Regions from separate parts of the Homo sapiens genome. Here regions 2, 3, 4 and 5 are each linked to region 1. Evidence: promoter capture Hi-C in human tissues and cell types (Jung and others, 2019). All regions are on one chromosome and are shown on one strand. The core of a region is centred on a gene start or on the middle of the fragment in contact, and the rest is flanking DNA. Distances in the headings are between cores, read along the strand shown.

Region 1 (2,700 bases), core at 11-2,510:
TGCACACCACCACACCCAGCTAAATTTTTGTATTTTTAGTAGAGATGGGGTTTCATTATGTTGGCCAGACTGGTCTTGAACTCCTGACCTCTTGATCCGCTCAACTCAGCCTCCCAAAGTGCTGGGATTATAGGCGTGAGCCACCGCGCCCGGCCAATGTTAGCTATTATTAATGGACAATTATGACTAATTATGAAGTACTTTCTTTTAAAAGCCTAGATCTCTAAGTAATGTCTTCCTCCCTCAGTCCTCAGCACCCGCCTGGTCGGGCATTGGGTCTCACCAAGCTACAGAGCCCTAGGTGCGCTGTGTTAGGTCACCAAGACTTTAGTCTGGTGATACTGACCCCAGGGCCCCAAATCACCATGTCTGCAAGTCTGGAACCCAAAGGCCTCCGTTCCCCGGGGTGGTGCAGGGAAGCCGCAGGGAGTGCGTCAGCTGTGGAGAGCGTAGGGGTGGGAAGTGAAGGCTGTGGGGTCCCCCAGGGGGTCAGGTTCGTCCTCGAAGGCAGGCCCTCCACAGGAAGACCTGGTTGGGGTGGGATCGGACACGCGGCCCAGACCCAGGCACCTGTGGATGGACGGCCGGGCATGTGGCCATCGGCTGGGGGCCTCTGCAGGCCGCGCCACCAGAGTGGGCACTCAGGGTCCGCAAGGGTCTGGGGCGCCCCCAGAGAAGCCCGCCGCCCCAGGCCGGTGCGGAGTTGACTGGGTCCCCCCGGCCCCGTGTCTGTCAGCTCCCGCGCGGCCCCTGGGAAGGGACGCGGATCGGATGCGGGCTCCGGGCCCTGCAGGCAGTTGAGAGCGCGGTTCCCTTGGGTATCCGGGGTCCGGGGTCACTTTCGCGCCTCCGCACTATTCCCACGCCCGCGCGCACTCTCGTGGCCATCCGCGTTGCGAGAGTGTCGCGCCCGGAGGTCAGGGGCGTGGAGCCCGGGCCCCCGAGTCTCCCCTGCGTGCGGCGGGGCGCGGGGCGCGGGGCGCGGGGCGCAGGGCTGAGGCGGAGCACAATGGTTGAATGAATGAATGAACGAACGAATGAACGGCGCTGCAGAGCCCTCTCCAGGCGGAATGAAAGTGCAAACCCAGCGTTTCGGGCGGCAGAGTGGCGGGGGCCACCTGGCGCGGCCGCGCGGCCAGGGTCCGGTTTCGCTTCCTCCCAGCCCGGGGGCGGGGCCTGCGTGGCTGTCCCCGCCCCGGTCCGCCCCCGGCCAGCCCCCGGCGCCGCGCGGAACTCGCGGGTTCGGAGCCGCCCGCTGAGGTCAGAAGGAGGCGTCTGCGCTGATCGGGTCCGCCGCGCGCCAGAGCCAGAGTCGCAGCCGAGGGGAGCCGGGGCCGGAGCCCGAGCCCGAGCCGAGCCGGAGCCCGAGCGAGCGGCGGAGACCGTGCCCCCGCCTCGGCCCCGCGCCGCCGCGGCCAGGCCCGGCATGGAGGAGGAGTGCCGGGTGCTCTCCATACAGAGCCACGTCATCCGCGGCTACGTGGGCAACCGGGCGGCCACGTTCCCGCTGCAGGTACGCATCCGCCCGCAGCCCGGGCTTACGTAACCCGAGCCCGTGACCTTGGCGGGGCTGCCCGAGACGAGCCTCAGTTCCCCGAGGGAGGCTCGGGAGCTGCGGGCAGAGCCTGGCGCGGGCGCCCTGGAGGCAGGCGCGGGATGAGCCTCCCGCTCTGCTTGGCTTGCGGGGGCGGAAGCGGAGGGCTGAGCGCTCTGCGGGCCCCTGCGGGTGGGACGGGTCCGGCGTCGGGGTACGCGGGTAGGAGGGAGCCCTGTGCACCAGCTATGGCGCAGCCGCTCGTCCTCGCCCCTTCCCGCCGACCGGGCCAACTGCCGCGGGGGCGGGCGGGCGGTGCGGCTCCCGGAGGCGAGGAAATGTCGCAGAGCCCCGAGGAGTCCCGGAGCAGTCACGCGAGCCGGGACCTTGCCCCGCTGGAACGCAGAAGCGGCCGTGGAGCTCGAGACGCTCGCGCGCTCACCTCCTGGGCCCCTGTGCGTGGGGAAGTCAGGAAGAAGACGCCGAGTGAGGTCACGGTGCCCACGAGGGTGGATTCCCCTCGGCCTGACCACGCCAGGAGGTGGCCGAAGGGAAGAGGGTGGGGCAGGGGCTGCTCTGCACCCTCTAGCAGAGCGGCATCCCTGCAGGTGTTTGCTCTGACGAGGAGAAGCCCCAGAGAGCAGTTCGGGACTGTGCGGATTGGCTTTAGGGAGCCAGCTTTTAAAACGCGTTGGCCCACGGCCTCCTGGTTGCAGCTAAGTGGCCCGTGGAGGGGTAGGAGAGGCCTGGGTGCAGTGGCGTGGGTGTCACGCAGGGCCGAGGCAGAACCAGGACGACGGGCACTTCCTGGCCTTGTCGAGTCAGCAGGAGGGCTGGGGGTGCCCTGCCGGGTCGTGCTCTCCTGTGCTGCCCACCTGCGGCCTGGTCACTGGGGACGGGAGCAGGTATGCCTGGTCCCTGTGCTGGGCCCCACGGGATGTAAAGAAGGGCCACCTGGGCACGGCGGGGCCTGCGGTGCGGGCTGGCCTGGGAGGAGGACAGGAAGAGGGGAGCAGAGCTTCAGTGGAATTTGAGGGCTGACCTAGGCGTGCCCCCAGGAGGACCAAGCTGAGCAGAGTTGAGCGTGGAAAGGCAGGGGGTTCGAGTCCGAAGTAAGTGGAGGTCCTGTTGGGAAGGATGCGGTGCTTCACAGGTGGTCTTACTTG
Region 2 (2,700 bases), core at 109-2,608, 290 kb after region 1:
ATTGACAGGACTAGCATCATTTCACCATGATTCATTAAAAGAAAGTGCCAAACCAGTGTTTGTGCTGAATTCAAGCATTTTCTAAATTCCCAAGTGGAAAAAAAAAATCTCTTATAGGTCTGCTCAGAGGGAAAATAGGCTTGCAGTCCACTTACTGCCCACGCACCAAAGGCTGCCTGGACCAGAGCCGGTGGGATTGGAGGAGGGGATTCTGCCTTTGCCTCCCTTCCTCCAGAAAGAACACTCCCTAACGTGGGAGCCCATCCAGCCGCACAACGCTGTGTCCACGTCTTCGGGAAGGGGAATGGCTAGTGTCTGTCTTCTCAGAGCAGCTGGACTCAGTTCTCTGTGAGAACAGTACAAAGACATAGATATTCCTCGGCTTGGAGTCTACACTTGGTATTGTCGGGTTTTTATTTTTTATTTACTTATTTTTTGTTTTTTGAGACAGAGTCTAGCTCTGTTCCCCAGGCTGGAGCGCAGTGGTGCAATCTCGGCTCACTGCAACCTCCGCCTCCCGGGTTCAAGCGATTCTCCTGCTTCAGCCTCCCAAGTAGCTGGGATTACAGGTGCACGCCACCACGCCTGGCTAATTTTTTGTATTTTTAGTAGAGACGGGGTTTTACCATGTTGGCCAGGCTGGTCTCGGACTCCTGACTCCTGAGGCCCACCTCAGCCTCCCAAAGCACTGGGATTACAGGCATGAGCCACCGTGCCTGGCCTCGTCAGGGTTTTTAATTATAAATTTAAATTTTATCGATTTGAGTACATGTGAAGTGGCATCTCATTTTCATTTTAACTTGCATTTCCCTGATGTCTAATGAGCGCTGAGTGTCTTTTCCTGACATAACTGGTCCTTTCTGTCTTTCTCCTGTTGTTCTTTCCCTGACTTCTTTTGGATTAGTCAGATATTTTCTATTATTTCTCTTTTCTTTATTGGCTTCTTAGCCAAACCCCTTTTGTTCATTTTTTCCCTAGTGCTTTTTCTCCTGGGCACAGACTACGTATGCCTCACATATCAAATTTAATGTAGGGTCAATATTGTATCACTTCAGTCTTCCCTCTTCATACATAACCCTTTGCATCTTGCACCTCACACCTGGAGTTCCACACTTCACAGTGTGAGGAGCTTATCAGTGGGTTACCTCTCACCATCCATCCTTCACACTGTCCTTACCTTTTACTTCTACACACACTGTAGAAGTATCACAAGCTATTGTTTGTTTTAAACAGTCAGTGGTCTCTTAAAGAAATTATGAGAAGGGCCGGGTGCAGTGGCTTATGCCTGTAACCCAGCACTTTGGGAGGCCAAGGTGGGCAGATCACCTAAGGTCAGGAGTTCAAGGCCAGCCTGGGGAAGACCCCCTGCCGTCTCTACAAAAAATTAAAAAATTAGCTGGCATGGTGGTACGTGCCTGTGGTCCCAGCTACTTGGGAGGCTGTAGTGGGAGGATGGCTTGAAGCCAGAAGACTGAGGCTACAGTGAGCCGTGACTGTGCCCCTGCACGCCAGCCTGGGCGACAGAGCAAGACCCTGTCCCCCCACCAAAACATTTTTTTTCTCTTGATCTATTTCACCAGTTTGAGTATGATATGCCTGCATGTAATTTTCTTTGTATGTGTTCTCTTCAGGTTTTGCTGAATTTCTTGATCTGTAAATCAGTATTTTTCACCACGTGTTTGGATTTGGAGCCATCATTTTGCAAAAATGTTTCCTTCCTAGACTCATACTCTCCTTCTGGAGCTCCGATCACACATGCTTTTGGCCATTTCATACTGTCCCATAGGTCTCTGAGGTTCTCTCCACTTTTCTTCAACTTTTTTCTCTTCTTCAGATTAAATAATTTCTATCCATCTGCCTTCAAGATCCCAAACTCCTGTTTTCTCCAATCTGTTAATCCAATTCAGTGAAATTTTCATTTCTGTTATTGTACTTTTCAGTTCTAGACTTTTCTTTTGATTCTTTTAGATACTTTGTTATTCTGCTGTGAATTTCTGATTCTTTACTCATTAAGACAATATTTTCATTTAATCCTTTGGACATATTATTTTTATTTATTTTGAGATGGAGTCTTGCTCTGTCACCCAGGCTGGAGTGCAGTGGCACTATCTTGGCTCACTGTAACCTCCACCTCCCGGATTCAAGCGATTCTCCTGCTTCAGCTTTCCGAGTAGCTGGGGCTACAGGCGTGCGCCACCACACCCAGCTAATTTTTGTGTTTTTAGTAGAGATGGGGTTTCACCATGTTGGCCAGGCTGATCTCAAACTCCTGGGCTCAAGTGATCTGCCCACCTCGGCCTCCCAAATTTCTGGGATTACAGGTGTGAGCCACCGTGCCCAGCCTCCTTTGGACATATGTAGAGCTGCTTTAGAATCTTTGTAAATACAGAATCTGGTTCATTGTAGGGGGATTGGTTTCTGTTAACTGCTTTTTTTTTTTCTTAACTATGGCTTACGTTTTCCTCTTTCTTTGTATGTTTAGTGATTTTTGTTTTTTTAGTGTATATTCAACACTGATAAATAACAAATGAGGGAGACTCAGGGTGCTCTTCCACTGAAAAATCCTGACTTTCGTTCTAGTTTGTAGTTCCATTACTGGACGTACCATGCTGGGCTGTGTAGGCTTAGCTTTAGGCTCTGTTTACTGAGCAATGTCCCAGGTGTCTCCCAGGCCCCTCTTACTTGGCAGGACTTAACCTC
Region 3 (2,700 bases), core at 1-2,500, 290 kb before region 1:
GAACTAAAAACGGTTACTATTTACCCACCACGACAATCAAGCCTGGAGCAGTGAATCTGCATGGGGTCCACCCGCCAAAGGTCGGGTCGCCCCGGGTCCAGTGGGGAGGCCCCGCCGGCTGGGTCCCACCGCCCCCACGCACCTGCGTTTTGGTGACTCGATGCCGCGCCAGCTTCACCACCGCGAAGTTGCCTTTGCCCAGGGTCCGCTCGATGTCGTAAAAACCCACCCGGAGGGGCTTCTGCTGGCCCTGACCCTGGCCCGCGGGGTCCGCGCTGAACTCCGACATGATAACCATGGCTCCGCGCGCACCTGCGGGGCCGCACAGAGCTCAGAGCCCACCAGCGCCCCCGCCGCCCGCGGTCGGCTCCATCCGTGCCCGCGGAGCCCCCAGTCCCCACGGGACGCAGGGACCTGCTCCCACGCCTGTCGCCCCCACTCTATCCACGGGCCCCTCCAGCCCCGTGGGAGGTGTGGACCCGCCCCCGCCGCCCGCTCCACCCGGACCCCCGACCCTCTTGAGCCCCGCGGGGCGCACGGACCCGCTCTCATAGAGGCCCCTGCCGCCCGAGTCCGGTTCCGTCCCGATCCCGGGACCCCCTGAGCCGGGATTCCACACTCGCCTCCCGCCGCCCGCTGTCGGTTCCGTCCCCACCCTCGACCCCTTTAGCACCTCTGGGCGCGGACCCGCTCCCACACCTGGCCCTGCCACCCGAGGTCGGCTCGATCCGGATCCCAGGACCGTCCCCTGCCCCGCTCCCACACCCTGCCCCCGCCGCCCGCGATCCGTCCGGTCCCCACCCCCGACATCCCAGGCACCTCGGGGATCGCGGACCCGCCCCCCACACCCGGTATCTCCGCCCGCGGTCGGCTCCAACCTGACCCCCGGCTCCCCAGCCCCTGAGCCCCGCGGACTCACTCCTACCCCGGCCCCCCAACAAAGGGGAGCCCGAGGGCGGCCAGGCCGCCAACCCCGCCCGCGAACCCCGCGCGCGCAAGGCCAGGGACCCTGCGCGGTGGCTGCAACCCCGAGCCCCGGCCCGGCGCCCGCGCGGAGCCCCCACGGCGGCCACCTCCGCCCGCCCGGAGCCCGCCGCTGCCGCCGCTGCCGCCGCTGCCGCCGCCTCACCTCCGCCGCCACCGGAGCGCCCAGGCCAGGAAGCCGCCCGCTCGGCCGCTGGCGCTGCTCGGGTGCCTACTGCTCCGGCTGCCGCCGCCGCTGCTGCTGCCTCCGGGGCCGCGCCGCATGTCAGCCCGGAGCCGCCGCGCTCCGCCGCACGCGGCGCCCGGCCCCGCCCCGGCCCGCCCCGGCCCGCCCCCCGTAGTCCCCGCCCCCTGCCCCGCCCCCGCCGCCCGGGCGGGGGCCGCCCATTGACGTCGCTTTGACGCCAGAGCGACGCGCGGCCGAGCGCCGGGCGGAGGGAGAGCGGGAGATCGGGCGGTTGCCAAGAGACTGGCGGCTCTGACGCGCGCGGGATGAGGCCGTTGCCCTGGCGACCGCGGGCCGGTGACGTCAGGGGCGCCCGCCGCCCGAGGCCCGCCCGCCTGCGCTCCGCCGGGCGCCCCCTCCCGGGCGCTGGGGGCACTGCGGGCGGCCCCACCGCCGAGGGCGCGCCCGCCCCTCCACGCTCGGGCACTCGGGCCGGGTCCCGCGGGCGCCTTGTGCTCGCTCCCTCCAGGAGGGGACGGCTCTCGGGCAGGGGTCGCCGGCCCCTCCACGCGGCCTGCGTTCGTCCAGACTCAGAGCCTCGGGACGTGCGGGGGCCCGGGGGCCTCGCGGGCTCGCGCGTGGGGCTGGCGGCGCGGATGCCCTGGGGCGCTGCAGACCCCGAGAGGCCGCTTGCCCGCGGGGACGTCAGCCGCTTTTGCTGTTAAAATCTGAAATGTTCAGCAAGTTAGAAACTTGAAACCTAAGGAAGCGTGACCGGCCGCTCTGGAAGCCCCCGCCGCGCGGCCGGTCCCGGCCCCGGCCCTCAGCGGCGCTGGCGTCTGCGCGTCCCGGGGCTGCCCCCGCAGCATGTGGGGCTGGGACCCTCTTCCCGCGCGGGCCCCGGGCGGACGCTGCGGGCGGTGACGGAGCCAGGCCGGCCGCCTGGGTAGGGGACGGGGGCGCGGGACCACTTGCTTGCCCGTGGCCGATGCCTCATCCGAACGGAAAACGTTTTCTTCAGGGGAGACAGAGGCTGTGGGCGAAGGTATTTTTTAAGCCTGAGGACCCATTTGGGAGTTAGATTCTGGATCGAGCCTAGGGTCAGTTTTCCTTGTGTTAAATAACACTACTTCACAGAAGGGGGAACGAGAATTCAGGGGAGTTGGCACAAAACTTGGAACCCTTCTCGGGAGGCTTTCCTGCCTGGACGGACGCCTGGGAGGAGGGCCCGGAGAAACGAGGATGAGCTTCTCCTCATTCGCCCGAGGGTCTGACCACAGATTTCCCAATCGCCACACACACACACACACACACACACACACACACACACACACGGGTTGTTTGGGAGTCAGTTGGTTTTCAAAGGCTTTCAAGGAAATGAAGAGTCCCAAAGTTTTCCTTAATCGTTCAGAGTGTTTTTCTTTGTCCCAGGTTTATATACCAAGAATACGGGGGAATATTTTTAGTTCCTTTCAGCTGAACAGTGTACAACTGCCTTTTTTCCTTTTGGAGGTCCCAACACCCTGTTAATCCGCTCCTAGGAGAACTAA
Region 4 (2,700 bases), core at 159-2,658, 350 kb after region 1:
GAGCGCAAGTGATCTACCCTCCTCAGCCTCCCGAAGTGCCAGGATTACAGGCGTGAGCTATTGCACCCAGCCGGCAGATTTTAAATAAATAGGTTCAAGAAAAATTTAGTGAATTGATGGTTCTGGGTCCACTGGATATCCATATATAAAAACAAATCTTGATCTCACCCCATAAACAAAATTAATTCCAGGTGGAGTTTTGATCTAAACATGAAAAATAAAATAAGAAAACTCTTGAAGATAACTTGGGAAAATGTCTTTGGGACCTTAAGGTTGGCAAATATTCCTTAAATAGGACATGAAACCTTTATGGTTATGCACCAGCCGTGAAGGAAGAGGGTCCTGCATTAGACTACGTAAACATCAGTGCTTCTCTTCACTGAAAGGTACTCTGAAGGGAGTGAAAAGGCCCTCCGCAGCTTGGAAGAGTACAACCAGTATATATAGACAAGAAAGGGCCCTTACTCCAGGGCGTACTGTGAAGAACTCACATACATCAATGCAGAAAGACTGACAAACCAGTAGAAAAACAGGCAAGAGAGGAAATCCAAATGGCCGATAAACATGAAAAGGGGCTCAGTCTCATGAATCATAGCAAAATGCAAACTGAAGCCATTATTAATGAAGTACCAGCACACACCACCAGAATGGCCAGGATGGAAAGGCTTTCCTCGGGTATCAGTGGGAGGGTGGAGATGCTGGCGCTCATTCACTGATGGTAGTGTGCATCACTGGGACCACTTTGGAAGGCTGTTTGCGATATCTAATGGGTATCGCCATTACAACACATGCCCCGTGACCCAGCACATCCACCCCTGGTGTGTACAGATACATGCACACACACATGCATCAGAAGGCAAGTACACAGAGATACCTGTGGCACCCGTGAGTCATTGGAGCTGCAAACGGGGAAGAACTCAAATGTTCATCTTGTCCAAGGGATGACAACGTTGCACCGTGGCCCTGTAGTGTGCTAGGGTACAGTGATGAACGTGAATGGGTCGTAGTGGATGACTCTAACCAACCTGAAGTTGAGCTAAAGAAGTTAGACACAAGAGAAGGCATACTTTTTTTTTTTTTCTGAGATGGAGTCTTGCTCTGTTTCCCAGGCTGGAGTGCAGTGGCGTGATCTTGGCTCACTGCAACCTCTGCCTCCCGGGTTGAAGCGATAAGAGAGGGCATACTTTTTGATTCCTTGTGTCTGAAGTTCACGGTGAAGCTACACCAGTCTGCTGTGAGCTCTCTGGCAGGTGGAGGGGCTGGTGACTGGCAGGGAGTTCCAGCGGGAGCTGCCTTCACGGGAGGCATAGCAGGCGTTCACCTAGGACTCATGTACCTTCCAGTGTGTGGGTTGCACTCAAGTGGTAGGGGTATCAAAAGAGAGAAGAACAAGAATGCCTTTAATTTTATACTTGGAAGTGGCAAGATGGCACTTGCCATTGCTAATACAGCAATCAGGAGAGGAGGAGGGACTTTAAGGAAAATTAATATAAATTAAGAATTTGTTTAAGAAGTCTGTTATTCACAAAAGATGATATCCAGATGGCCAAGAGGTATCTGATGGCCCATTAGGGAAATGTGAGTTTTCTGGAGACGGTGAGGCCACCACCCGGTTCCAGAGTGAGGTGACCAAGCTGCACGCTCTGCCATTCAGTCTCAGGCTCTCAGGGCAGAGCGGAGGCTTGGTCTTTGTTGTGTTGGGTGCTGTGGCATGCTGGGTGGCAGATGCCACCATAGAGGCATGGCCTTCGTGCTGTTGGCTGAGGTGCCCATTTTCTGTGTCGGCCACCATTTAGGAGCAAGGGGCTGACATTTGTTTGGACGACTCAAAGCCATGAAGCCATGGCTGCAGAACAATTGCTCTTTTCCAGAGTTTGTGAGACTCTTGTTTTTTATTCTCAAGCTGCACTCTAATGGGTAAAATAAGCCAGGGTGGCTCTGGCACTCTCTGTCCCCTTCCCCCGAGCTCTTGCGTCTCTGCTGCAGGGATGCTGGTGGGAGAAGAGTGCTGGCACTGCCTGTGTTCTGCTGTGAGTAGCCTGGCGCACTTGGGCCTGGGGGCGTCTTCGGACCCTGAGAAGTCATCCCTCCGTTGAGGCAGGGGTAACATTGCAAATAGCTTTACCCATAGTAGCCAAACACTGGAAACAACCCAGACACTTGATAGGAGTGGATAAATAAACTGTGGCCAACTTGTAGAAAGGTTTAATAAGCAGCAGTGAAAAAGAACAGGCCGACAGACTCAGCAAGGTTGAATCTTAAAGATACTGTGTGGAATTAAAGAAGCCCCATGCACAAAGGAGGACATGCTGTGTGATTTCATTATATGAAGTTCACAAATCAGCCAGAAGGAATTGATGGTGGCCGAAGTCAGGAGCCGGGTGCCTCTTTGGGGTGGATCTTGACCGGGAAAAGGGACTTGAGAGAACCTTCTAGGATAATTTTATTTCTTGATTAGGTGGTGGTTACATTTGTAAAAATCATCGACCTCTAAATTTAGGGTTTGTGCCCTTCACATACCTTGTTGTATGCATTTTGCCACTTGTTTTTTCAAAGCAATGAAAAAGTATCACTGCAATTAGGTTTTAAATAAATTTGTTTCGTTAACATGTCTGGAAGTCTTAGATGTCTTACTGTGGAAGGTCTCGCTGCTGTGGAGCCCACCTCTTTCAGGCCCTCTAAAGTATAGAGAAGAAGCAG
Region 5 (2,700 bases), core at 59-2,558, 270 kb after region 1:
TCCCTAATGGCATCAGTGAGGGTGACAGGTCCATGCTGGTGCTTAGCCCAGCTCCTGAGAAGCTGGGAAGGCCTGGCTCAAAGTCCTGCGTCCAGATGCCATTTATTTTTTAAAATATATCCTGAAGTCAGAGCACCCAGAATTTTGCATGATGTTCTGTTGTTTTCTCGGGAGATGAAAGTGAAGTGCCTGGTGCCACTTGGTATGGGGATGTCATGGGTGGGTCAGGCCTTGCCCTCTAACAAGAGGGACTGACTTGCCTGAACCCCACTTCGCCTGTTTGAACACAAGTGCTCACGGGCACTGGGGGGCAGCCATGCAGACCCCTTCGGACTTCATCACCCCCAGCATCACAGGCATCTGGCTCACCCAGGAGAGGGGCCAAGGTTAACCATGAGGCCCATTGCCTGCCTTTATTGGCCCAGATCCCACCTCCGCTTCACCCAGAAGCTCAGTACGTAGGAGTCAGTCCCTGCCACCTGACATTCTGGGACATGTGAGTGTGTACACATGTGCATGCATGCACACACCATGTGTGTGGGGACCTTCATAGCCATACGCATGCACACATGTACACACGTCCCAGCACACACACGGGCACACCTGAAGAATAAGGGGCAGCGTTAGGAAGTGGGCTTGGGAAACCATCCTCTTCATGTCTCTTCTTGTTTGTTTGTTTGTTTTTGAGACGGAGTTTCGCTCTGTCACCCAGGCTGTGGAGTACAATGGTGTGATCTTGGATCACCGCAACCTCTGCTTCCCGGGTTCAAGCGATTCTCCTGCTTCAGCCTCCCAAGTAGCTGGGATTACAGGCACCTGCCACCATGCCCAGCTAATTATGTATTTTTGGTAGAGACAGGGTTTCTCCATGTTGGTCAGGCTGGTCTCGAACTCCTGACCTCAGGTGATCCACCTGCCTCGGCCTCCCCAAGTGCTTGGAATACAGGCGTGAGCCACCACAGCTGGCCTTCTTCACGTCTCTTCTGAGCATAGTGCCTGAGAACCCGGAATTGTCCAGGTGGCTCACACAGCAGCAGGGTTCATGGAGATAAAAGCCCTTCTTGAAGAAAGTGGCCCCCCAGGGCTAAGGAACTTGATGAAGAAACCAAACAGTCCCGTGACGTCTTAGCAAGCTAGCAACGTGGCCTGAGCTTTGCTTTGCTGTTGGATGTGAGCTCTTCCACTGCAGGCGGCCTGCACCTGGGCTGGGCAGGAACAAGTCCAACCGCAGGTACCCTGGACGTGAGCCTTGATCGTCCCACGTGTGGCCAGGGGGCCTGTGAGGGTGCACGTGCACACACATGCACACACAGACACACACGTGCACGTACACCAGCAGGTGCATGCCCTGCCGCTGAACCCCTGGGGGAGGGACAGGCCCAGTCACAGGGGCAGGCACCAGAGGACAAGGCCACGGAGGGCTCCGCATGGCTTCGGCTGCTGCCCTGCAGTCGGTCCCAGCCTCATAGCACTTGCCAGGTGGAGCCGCTCCGAAGTCTTAGGATCCAGGGATGGGAAATGCCAGCAAGGTCACATGTGTGACCTCACTTCACAGCTGCTGGCGCAGCCTCTGCTTGAACCCAGCCAGATCCCAGCGTGCCTCTACTGTCTGAATTGGCCCATTCCATCGATCACAGATGGGGAGCACAAGTGTGTTTCCGTGGGACAGTGTGTTACGGGGGAGGCTTGGATTTGGGGGTCTGGAGGCCTCTAGATGAAAACCCAAAACTCACTCCTTAGGACCTGTGTGGCCCAGGCCAAGAAGGTTCTTAGCCTCCATGCCCTTCCGTGTTCTAGCCTGTAAGGTGGGGATGGTCATCAGGACGATCAGCGTACCTCCTGGGCTTAGGCCGTGACAGGTGCTCAGCAAGTGGCTACTGTCCCGGCAGACCCGGGGGCATCCCAAACCTGCATCTGTCCTGGGCCCTGCCTGTGCCAGCATGGAGGGGAGGGGCTGTGGTAGTGGCCTTTGCTTCCTCTCCCCTTGGAACCTTTCATGAGCCCCCAGTGTCTCCTCCTCCCCATCATTCATCTTTTCCTGTCACTTCTTTCTTTTTTTTTTTTTTTTTTTTGAGACGGAGTCTCGCTCTGTCCCCCAGGCTGGAGTACAGTGGCGCAATCTCGGCTCACTGCAAGCTCCACCTCCCGGGTTCAAGCCATTCTCCTGTCTCAGCCTCCCGAGTAGCTGGGACTACAGGCGCCTGCCACCATGCCCAGCTAATTTTTTGTATTTTTAGTAGAGACGGGGTTTCACCATGTTAGCCAGGATGGTTTCAATCTCCTGACCTCGTGATCCACCCACCTCGGCCTCCCAAAGTGCTGGGATTACAGGCGTGAGCCACTGCGCCTGGCCTCCTGTCACTTCTTAAATCCTTTTGGTCTGGGTGCAGTGGTTCACACCTGTAAGCCTCACACTTTGGGAGGCCAAGGCAGAGGATCACTTGAGCCTAGGAGTTCAAGACCAGTCTGGGCAACATAGCAAGACCCCATTTCTAAAAAAAAAAAAAAAAATTTTTTTTTTAATTGGCCAGAAACTGTGGCTCATGCCTGTAATACCAGCACTTTGGGAGGCTGAGGTGGGAGGATCACTTGAGCCTAGGATTTCAAGACCAGCCTGGGCAACATAGCAAGACCCCATCTCTACAAAACAAAAATTTTTTTTTAATTGGCTGGGCACCGTGGCTCATGCCTGTAATCCCA

The links. The method cuts DNA at HindIII sites, captures the fragments that hold promoters and counts their contacts. A contact is called where the count stands out against the background at its distance.
Region 2: a contact is called between a fragment that was not itself captured here and the fragment with the promoter of PDXK in region 1, in 3 of the 25 tissues and cell types used here (dorsolateral prefrontal cortex, lymphoblastoid cells and spleen).
Region 3: a contact is called between the fragment with the promoter of SIK1 here and the fragment with the promoter of PDXK in region 1, in 4 of the 25 tissues and cell types used here (IMR-90 fibroblasts, dorsolateral prefrontal cortex, lymphoblastoid cells and 1 more).
Region 4: a contact is called between a fragment that was not itself captured here and the fragment with the promoter of PDXK in region 1, in 2 of the 25 tissues and cell types used here (dorsolateral prefrontal cortex and lymphoblastoid cells).
Region 5: a contact is called between a fragment that was not itself captured here and the fragment with the promoter of PDXK in region 1, in 2 of the 25 tissues and cell types used here (dorsolateral prefrontal cortex and lymphoblastoid cells).

Annotation. Positions count from the first base shown.
Region 1 is chr21:43,717,869-43,720,568 of GRCh38, forward strand. PDXK (pyridoxal kinase) reads left to right here and starts at 1,261. Exons shown (of 11, transcript NM_003681.5): 1 at 1,261-1,513. The coding sequence starts at 1,427. LOC124905032 (a long non-coding RNA gene) reads right to left here and starts at 680. Exons shown (of 2, transcript XR_007067896.1): 1 at 347-680. RefSeq lists enhancers at 563-612, 1,954-2,700 and silencers at 763-1,552, 1,593-1,902, 2,060-2,249. The HindIII fragment of the contact is 22,908 bases long and covers 1-2,700 here.
Region 2 is chr21:44,006,702-44,009,401 of GRCh38, forward strand. No RefSeq gene overlaps it. Among named protein-coding and RNA genes, the nearest start is that of TRAPPC10, 4.3 kb to the right of the region's middle. The HindIII fragment of the contact is 5,883 bases long and covers 1-2,700 here.
Region 3 is chr21:43,425,881-43,428,580 of GRCh38, forward strand. It overlaps SIK1 (salt inducible kinase 1), which reads right to left and starts at 1,251. Exons shown (of 14, transcript NM_173354.5): 1 at 1,130-1,251; 2 at 143-312. The coding sequence starts at 298. The HindIII fragment of the contact is 13,239 bases long and covers 1-2,700 here.
Region 4 is chr21:44,068,830-44,071,529 of GRCh38, forward strand. The region is part of intron 7 of TRAPPC10 (trafficking protein particle complex subunit 10); the gene reads left to right. Among named protein-coding and RNA genes, the nearest start is that of PWP2, 37 kb to the right of the region's middle. The HindIII fragment of the contact is 4,440 bases long and covers 1-2,700 here.
Region 5 is chr21:43,987,720-43,990,419 of GRCh38, forward strand. No RefSeq gene overlaps it. Among named protein-coding and RNA genes, the nearest start is that of TRAPPC10, 23 kb to the right of the region's middle. The HindIII fragment of the contact is 8,875 bases long and covers 1-2,700 here.